Regions from separate parts of the Homo sapiens genome. Here regions 1 and 3 are each linked to region 2. The links are contacts of gene promoters, found by promoter capture Hi-C in blood cells and fetal thymus (Javierre and others, 2016). All regions are on one chromosome and are shown on one strand. The core of a region is centred on a gene start or on the middle of the fragment in contact, and the rest is flanking DNA. Distances in the headings are between cores, read along the strand shown. Region 1 has its middle 75 kb from the start of LINC02458. Region 2 holds the start of C12orf50 (chromosome 12 open reading frame 50). Region 3 has its middle 46 kb from the start of LINC02458.

What was found. The method cuts DNA at HindIII sites, captures the fragments that hold promoters and counts their contacts. A CHiCAGO score of 5 or more calls a contact.
Region 1: a fragment that was not itself captured here is called in contact with the fragment with the promoter of C12orf50 in region 2 in 1 of 17 cell types (M0 macrophages); the score reaches 6.3 in M0 macrophages.
Region 3: a fragment that was not itself captured here is called in contact with the fragment with the promoter of C12orf50 in region 2 in 4 of 17 cell types (M0 macrophages, M2 macrophages, M1 macrophages and 1 more); the score reaches 7.9 in M0 macrophages.

Annotation. Positions count from the first base shown.
Region 1 is chr12:88,943,198-88,946,445 of GRCh38, forward strand. No RefSeq gene overlaps it. Among named protein-coding and RNA genes, the nearest start is that of LINC02458, 75 kb to the right of the region's middle. The HindIII fragment of the contact is 2,971 bases long and covers 96-3,066 here.
Region 2 is chr12:88,028,149-88,031,226 of GRCh38, forward strand. It overlaps C12orf50 (chromosome 12 open reading frame 50), which reads right to left and starts at 1,253. Exons shown (of 13, transcript NM_152589.3): 1 at 1,192-1,253. The HindIII fragment of the contact is 7,634 bases long and covers 1-3,078 here.
Region 3 is chr12:88,971,868-88,974,799 of GRCh38, forward strand. No RefSeq gene overlaps it. Among named protein-coding and RNA genes, the nearest start is that of LINC02458, 46 kb to the right of the region's middle. The HindIII fragment of the contact is 1,571 bases long and covers 553-2,123 here.

The sequences.
Region 1 (3,248 bases), core at 331-2,830, 920 kb after region 2:
TTTCTCTCCCTCAGTAAATATGACTGAGCCCCTATCAGGTGCCAGACACAGCTTAGGGGCTAGAAATGCAATGAGGAACAATGATGCCTTCCAGAAGCTTTGATCTAGGGAGGAAGGCCATAGGAAGATGTGCAGTCATAAACTAGTATCAAAGTTGCCATGGTCTGTGAATACTGAAGAGCAGCAAATCCAGTCTTGGGAGTCAAACTTATCCCTCTACATCCTGATAAGTTATTCAGATTTCTATATTCAGCACAACTACCCCTCTTCGGGAGAGCCTTCATGCCATTGCTCCACACCTGAGGCTCTGAGAGGTGTTCACCTTTTGCCCCCGTGCCCTGTGCACACACCTCTACTAGCATCTATGAGCTGTAGAGTCAATATCCTCTCTCTCTCTCTCTGTCTCTCTCAAGTAGTTCCCTCAACATTGTGAATCCTTAAAGGAAGGAGCTGTGTTTTCTATCTCTAGATTCTCAACACATTTTAAGTACCAAATAAACGTTATCTCTCTCCTCTTTTCCTCCATCTTCAATTAGCAAAGGTAAGAGTTAAAGCCCTGAGAATAGATAAGGGCTGAAAGATGATAAAGAACTCAGAATAGAGAGGGTTCAGGACTGTTCTTTGGGAAATGTCTTCATTTCAGGAGAAGAGAGTTCTGTGTCATGGAACTTAAGAGAATTTCCCAAAAAGACATTTTGGGATTCCAAGGCAGGCAGACCACTTGAGGTCAAGAGTTTGAGACCAGCCTGGGCAACACGGCAAAACCCCATCTCTATAAAAAATACAAAAATTAGCCAGATATGGTGGTGTGCACCTATAGTCTCATCTACTCAGGAGGCCTAGGTGGGAGGATCGATTGAACCTGGGAGATGAAGGCTGCAGTCAGCTGTGGTTGTACCGCTACGCTCCAGCCTGGGTGACAGAGCGAGACACTGTTTCAAAAAAATATCCCCCCAAAATAGAGTGGCAAACAGCCCTACTACATGCCGCAGAGAGAGCAATAAGAAGGAGACTGCAAAAAGACCTTGGATATGGCAGTTGCATTACATTATTTGAATTCAAATCAAAGTACCATAGAATAATGTTCCCAATTATTTCCTCAGCCTTAGCAATGGTAAGTCTTTGTTTTCCTATCTGTGAGTATTATGAAGATCTGAGGAAACAATGAGATTCTTTTGCCAAATGACAACAAAATTCATTTTGAGGGCAGATAGACAGCTATATACAAGTAAATATACGATGAACTGTAAACTCGAGGCAACAAGGGAAGTTGGTATGAGTCACAGCATGACTGAGCATTGTTCAGAAAACAGCTCCCACCTCTTTGTTTAAGTTATTTCTAGCAGGTGGCTGAAGCACAGATTCAAGGGTGTGAGAACCTGGAATAATCATACATCTTCTTTTCTTCATAAACTCCGTTCTGACCCAAGAATCTTCACTCATGAAACAAAGTGCTGAGGTAGAAGAAAGAGGCCTGAACTCACAGAGGTATGATATTGAGTTCTGGTTTGGCTACTATCTAACAAAAAGCAAGTCACTTCTGAGGGCCTGTATCTCCTTATGTATAAAACATATGCTTTTCTAAGAGATTGTAAGGTCCTTAGACAAACCACCAAGTTTCATTTCTTTTCATCACCATTCTCTAGCATAGTAGTTTTATGTAAAGTGGAAACTGAATAAGAAGAATTTGAAAATAGTTTAGAATCTTGGTTTTAATATCTAATATTTGAAGTTCTGACATTTACTTTGAAATGCTTTTTGACCTCAGATAATAGCCAGATATATTTATTGAATGCTATAGTATCAGCAAACTATGGCCCAGAAACCAAATCCAGCACTCTTTCTGTTTTTATAAAGTTTTACCAGAAAAAGTCATGCACAATTCATTTACATATTGAGAGCTAGCTGTTTTCAAACTACAACAGCAGTGTTGAGTACTTGCAACAGAGTCATTCCAGCCTGCAAAATCTACTTACTATCTGGTTTATAGAGGAAGTTTGCCAACTCCTGATATAGGCTACTGAAGTCTGAATGCCAAGAAAGCATGTGGGATAAGGTCCAGGTCGGACCTTAAAGTTAGTGCTAAACCATGGGCATTCTTCCACTGGGATAATACAAAATCTGCCTTGCAACAGAATGAGTTTAGTGGTCGGTAAGCATACTTCTCTTTAACGTCCTCCTTTGTCTCTTGGATCTGCATGCTCAAGAAAGCTGTCAAAATGGAGCACTTAAAAGTAAAAATCAATCTTCACTCTTAAGCACTGGTAACTCAATATTGTCCAAAAGTAGGCCAAACCACACACATGGCCAAAGCTATTTTTGCCTGGCTAATTTTTCTTCATGCTCAAGGTCAAGCTATGGCCTCAGCAACTCTAGGAAGCACTTCTAGAAACACACCTGGTATATTTTAATGCCTGACTCTACTTAAGACTATGGAATCCTCAATGGATCATCTTTCTACTCCTGGCACATCTTTCTACTTCTACATGATACCACAGTGCTTATCATGGCATTTGATAGATACTCAATACTTTTGAACCAAATTGAACTAACAGGTAGTGTTCTTTCTGGACAAAGACATCTACCTTGGTCTGAGTTGTTGAAATGATACCAAATGAATTGAAGTCTTTCTGTCCAAAAACAGGAAATAAATACTAACTTCCCCAGATTTTTGTTTTTTTTTTTCACGCTAGTCCTCACCATTTTCCAATTTGATAGTAAAATGAGAGCAATATCATACAAATGTCAAATATTTGTTGAGCACCTACTCTGAACAAAGCAAATAGAAGTAGACATAATTCCCTTTTAGTCTCATGATACAATTATTTTTCCTCAAATATTCCCTAGAGGTCAATTACCATCTTTTATGCTGAGAGGATAGAAGCCTACCATTATTAACGACCTGGCCTGACAAATGTATAGGCTGAATAGTAGTAAGAGGAAGAAGACTGTCGGGGTTCACACCATGCAGTCTTCATCCAAGGAATCAGGATAAAACAGCAGTTGCCTTAATTTGGCTGGGCAAAGTATATACCAATTAATGATGAGATAACTGGTTCAGATAAAAGCTTGTAATTAATGAATCATTAAGGCACACACTTTAGGAACATAGAAGAATCAGGAGCCACACAGCTTGCCCAGAAGCAATCTTCCAGTTTTGTTGCTGTGCTTAAATGCATTGCTAATTTCTGAGAGCCTGCCATTTGTAATAGCACTGAAATGAATCACAGTGAATTTATGAATGTGAA
Region 2 (3,078 bases), core at 3-2,502:
TATTTACTGGTAACTTACTCATTAGCCACTCTGCTAAGTACTTGGGGATACAGCAGTGAAATAGACAAAACACTCTGCCCACCTGGGACATGAAATCTGTTATTATTCTTTATTATCCTAGCATTTAATCTAACAGGTAATAGAAGTGAATCCAATTTCTGTGGTCAGAGAGGTTGACTCCATTCAGGTTTCCTAACAGAGAGGAAACACTTGAAACCAGACATATCATCTTTTTCACTGGATTATTTCTTGCATGAGCACAAAGCTCCAAATATTGAGTTTCTACCTTTATCTGGTTTTACTAAGATCTATACATCCTAATACATTGGAGGAATTCTCAGTTTTTCCCATTTAACTTTATAAAGTTTAATTTATATGTGGCCAATTTGTTTATATTAATTTTCTTTTTTAATGATATTTAAATATTTGTTATTACTTAGACTTTTGACAGAGGAAAATTCAGTAATTGGGTTAATAAATTTCAAATAGGAAAACAGATTTATTACACTAAGATTGACACTTACCTGAATTCAACTATTTGAATTATAATGACTGGAATCATATTAACTAAAACAATATCTTGTAACCTATGATGTTTTAATATTAGGAATTTAATGTCTCAAGGTGTCATAATATAGGCAAAAGTGCCACATGAAGATTCAAAAGCTATAGACATATAACTGGTATATATAAGGGTAGTTTCAAACAAATAATAATTTTAAATTATCTCAGATTTCTTCAGAGAAATTCAGTATGTCAAAAATACATGATAAGCTGTTACTCCAGATTTTACAAATATAAGATATCTTGCAAGAAAATAGTAAATTTTTGTTCAGCAATACAAGTTATTGCCATATCTCCCTTCATTCTACTAAAAAGATTAAGCATGTGAAGTACTGTCAATTGTACAATATTTACCTTTATGCATGTGGAATTAAAAAAGAAATAGCAGTCATTCCCAACTTCTGCCATTTTCAACTCTCTTGCTGCTAATCCAATGGTTTTTTTTTTTTGAAAAATATATATGAATTTCAGGAATGCAAATACAAGAACTATCAGTGTGTAAGGGGGAAAAATAATTTCTTTTCCACAGTCTTTCAGGCTATCAGTAGTATTCCTTTAAAACTGACCTCCTGTTGACAGTATATTACGCAATAGATAATTCTTAAAGACATTTAAATTAGAAGATACCTTCTCTAGCTTTGCAGAAACGCTGAAAGTGGTTGCTAGTAAGCACACAAACTCAAACTTCTAGAATTTTCCTCATTGTTACCTAATCCATTGTTTGCTCATCATAAATGACCTCACATGTAACTGCAGGCCAATGTTCACTCAGGTAAACTACAGTTTACCTGAGTGAACACTGTATTTCCCTTACTCAGTTTTAGCATATTAACTACAAAGGACTAGCAAAAATAAAATAGCATACTTTAATCTTTCAATGTTCTCGTTGAATATGGACTATAAACTAGTTTATACTTTTATAATAGAAAGTGATAAGTATTTCACAAGTAAACAGCTATTTCTAAATCTTCGTTTCTATAGAGGTTTTGGGAATAACACTAAAAATTTGCCATAGGTAAATGAGCTACTCATATTCTAAGATAATAAAAACAATTATTTAAATATGTACTCTCTACTATCCATTGATTTGGGAAAAATCATATTCAAATTGTGATATATTAATAGGTACCTGAAAATATATTGGGCTACTTATTCATCTTGTGGCTATATTCCATTTATTTTTCATCCATCATAAAAAGAGGAATATCTTCTTCCTATAGCAGAAAGTTTCCAGAGTGCTTGAAGGCTTTGAGAATTTGTTGAAAACAAGGGAAATACTCTGATTTCCAGAATGAAACATTTCAATCAGCAGTTATTTATATCTTCCTCTTAGTATCTTTAATCAAATAATTAAAACCCAGCAGAAATTAATAAAAAATATTCCTCATAAATGTATTAGTCCGTTTTCATGCTGCTGATAAAAGCATACCCAACTGGGAAGAAAAAGAGGTTTAATTGGACTTACAGTTCCACATGGCTGGGGAGGCCTCAGAATCATGGCAGGAGGTGAAAGGCACTTCTTACACTGCGGTGGCAAGAGAAAATGAGGAGAAAGTAAAGGTAGAATCCCCTGATAAACTGATCAGATCTTATGAGACTTATTCACTATCATGAGATTAGCATGGGAAAAACCCGTACCCATGATTCAATTACCTCCCCCTGAATCCCTCCCACAACATGTGGGAATTCTGGGAGATACAATTCAAGTTGATATTTGGGTGGAGACAGAGCCAAACCATATCATTCCACCACTTGTCCCTCCAAACTTCATGTCCTCACATTTCAAAACCAATCATGCCTTTCCAATAGTCCCCCAAAGTCTTAACTCATTTCAGTATTAATCCAAAAGTCCACAGTCCAGTGTCTCATCTGAGACAAGGCAAATCCCTTCCACCTATGAGTCTGTAAAATCAAAAACAAGCTAGTTACTTCCTAGATACAATGGGGATACTGGTATTGGGCAAAGCCACTGCAAGTGGGATAAGTTGGCCAAAACAAAGGAGTTACAGGACCCCTGCATGTCCTAATTCCAGCAGGGCAGTCAAATTTTAAAGCTCCAAAATGATGTCCTTTGACTCCAGGTCTCACATCCAGGTCATGTGGATGCAAAAGGTGGGTTCCCATGGTCTTGGGCACTCTGACCCTGTGGCTTTGCAGGGTACAGCCTCCCTCCTGGCTGCTTTCACAGGCTGGCATTAAGTGTCTGTGGCTTTTCCAGGTGCATGGCACAAGCTGTCAGTGGAGCTACCATTCTGGGGTTTGGAGGATGGTGGCTCTCTTCTAAAAGCTCCACTAGGCAGTGCCCCAGGAGGGACTCTGTGTGGGGGCTCCAGCCCACATTTCCCTTCCACACTGCCCTAGCAGGGGTTCTCCATGAGGTCCTTACTTCTGCAGCAAACTTTTACCTAAGCATCCAGGTGTTTCCATACATCTTCTGAAATCTAAGTGGAGGTTTCCAAACCTCAATTCTTGCCTTCTGTGCTCCTGCAGGCTCAACAGCAATGTGGAAGCTGC
Region 3 (2,932 bases), core at 88-2,587, 940 kb after region 2:
ACATTAAATATAATATTTAATATTTAATCTTATTAAAAGAAAAATAAAAATCATGCCCAAAGTACATTTTGGTATTTTGAAACACAACCTAAGAATCTATTTTCCAGTCATCTTCCTGGAGCTAGCTGGATCATAGATTCAAGAATGGCTCTTGGAGGTCAAAGGTTCCAAACCATTCTCATTTTGTGAGAATAGTAAGTCACAGTCCATGATAGGATCTTGATACAACATTGCTAAATTCTACTGCATCCTGAATAGAGTGTGACATAATTGCCAGTATCATCCATATGGTTCCAAGTGAATCTTAACTGAATGCCAAAACCCAGAAGTTGTATGCTGAGTAGGTGTAAGATAAATGTCATTACCTGATCTGTGCAGTAGCCTCCCAGGCCTCTATGAGACATTAGTAGTGTTTGACTTGTTGTCATTAAAGACAAAAAAAGGAAACTTTATACAGTATGTAGTGGTTTTCCAGGTTCCACGCAGCACGCAGGTTGCAAAGTGAGCCCAGCCTTACACCTACCCCATTGCCCTCTCACTAATTATTCATCAAGCTTATTTCCCAATCTGACTCCTCATTTCCATAACCTATTTTCCTCTTCACCTTTCTACCTCTCTGCTCCAGTTTTTAATTTTTTTTCCTTTCTCATTCTCTAATGCAAAAGTACATTTTGTCCCTAGATAGCACATTTTATATATTCAGGTTAATATTATTAGACTAAAACATTCCTCTTTACTATCATTGATCCCTAAAGCAATCCTGAAATGGCAACCCATTTAAAGCAGAACTCCAGTCTAGATGCAAAGGCAAGAATCCCCCAGCTACAAAAGGGGTACACTTTTCATTGTATTTTCAATTCATGTTATTCATCTTAGAAGCTATAGAGCCTTTTAAGAGCCTTTAACTGTATTTCTAGTGTCAGAGAACATTTAACCAAAAAGGCAATCTCTTCCTTTACATTTATGTCAAATTAAGTACTTGGTGAAAGTAACAGCCCTGGACAGGGAATCATGTTCTCAGGTGCACGTTTCTAGCTTGATATTGGCTGTGGGCTCACAAGCAATTTATTAAATTTTTAAAGCCTTGGTTCCCTCATCTGTAAGATGGGAATCCTAAAATGCCTACATTACTATCACTGGGCAAGTAAATGACACAATACACAGTTCCTTGCACATAAGGAAGACTTAAGAAATTAGTCACATTATTATTAGCATTATTATTATCATTAATAATACATTAACATTTACATAATGAAAGATTCACCAGCTAAAAAATAAATCTCCATGCGATTGGTTCAGTGTCCAAAATACAGGCTGGAAAAGAGAATCAGAAGGCAGGTGCTGGTTTGTGAAACTACAAATCCCAGAGAATAACAAAGTGTGATGAATAAGTTACGTGGTTAATAAACGTAGTTTGTGATTTGGTTAAATACGTGCCCCATTCTCAGGGACTCGGAGAAGAAATTCTATTTTGATTATCCCAGTTTGAATAGGAAACACAAGATAAATGGTTGATTCTTTCCCTTTATTTACCAGTTTAGCACATCGAATGTGATTAATAAGTTCCATAAATCTATCTTAATTTATAGGCATTTTCATTTTATTCTCTTGATACCTATTTGTCAGAAAGACTGAATCATTAGATCTTTTGAGATCTTTAAAATTTCCCTCAGTCAGGATTTTTCTAATTGCATCCCTGTGGTGTCATTAGGAGATTCCCATGTTCTCTATTTTTTCTGTCAACTGTTAAATCTAAGGCATGATCCGATTCAGATTTGATATTTTTTTTGCAAGGCTACCTTAGAGATGATGCACTGTTCCATCAGAAGTCACGTTGTCTCTCTTTTATTTTATAAGCTGTAATTGATGCCATGGTCTTGAGCCCTAATGGGGATCACTGGGGCTGGGGAAGAATGAGAAAAATATTGCAATTCTATCATTTCTTCACTTATTTCTTAAAATATTTCTATAATGAGAAACTTTCCCTTGCTTTCCATTTGGTTACTTAATGGTACAACATAGGAAACATAGGGTAAATGCTTAATCCTTCTCCCAACTTCTAAATTTTAAAAAGAATAAATTGGTTCTCCGCATTCTGAAGCTAGTACATTTTGTTGATGGTAAGCTTTCTTTTTTTTTTTTGGATAAGTATTATTATGAACCCATTGATTTAAATGTATTTAGTATTAAAGTCATTGCAGCTTACATCTTTATTGATAATCAGATTGCTTCATCTTTTTATGAAGTTGCATTTATTGTAATATATGGATACAGGTCCAGTTACTGAAAGAATAATCAGACAAAAATCAGCAGATAAAAAGAAATTGTAAAAATGATGACTAAGAGTTTACGTAGTCTTATATATAAAACACTGCTCAAACAACTATAGAATATATGGTTTTTCTTGTATAATTGGAATTGTTTTCTCTTTTGCCAGTGGATCTTCTTTAGGTTGATTCCTGAATCTTTTTAACACTACCTTAATAGTGTTTAATAGCCTCCTTGGTAAAATATTTCAAACTCATCTTGTACATTTCCTGTCCCAGGAATTGTGGTTTGCTTTAGTGGGAAATAGTATTTCAGAATAAAAATCCGAGTGTTAGAGGGCTTATTACTCTTTGGTTAACCATGGTTTCTAGGCCTTTTCATTAGACTAAGCTAGGAATTATTTTTAAGATAAATCACATCAAAATCCCTACTATATCTTCCAATTTAAATTCAAGACTACAGGATTTTTACTTAACCTCTTCTATCTTATTTCTGTGTCTCCTTTCTCCTATTTTGAGGATGACAAACCTGGCTCTCAAGGACACAGGGATAACTGAATTAAGCCATCACATAGCTACTCATTTGTCTGTTTCCAGATTATCACACAATAGTGGTAGAATAAAACACCTACTCGACCTGCAGTATTACTACAGTCACGTTACTG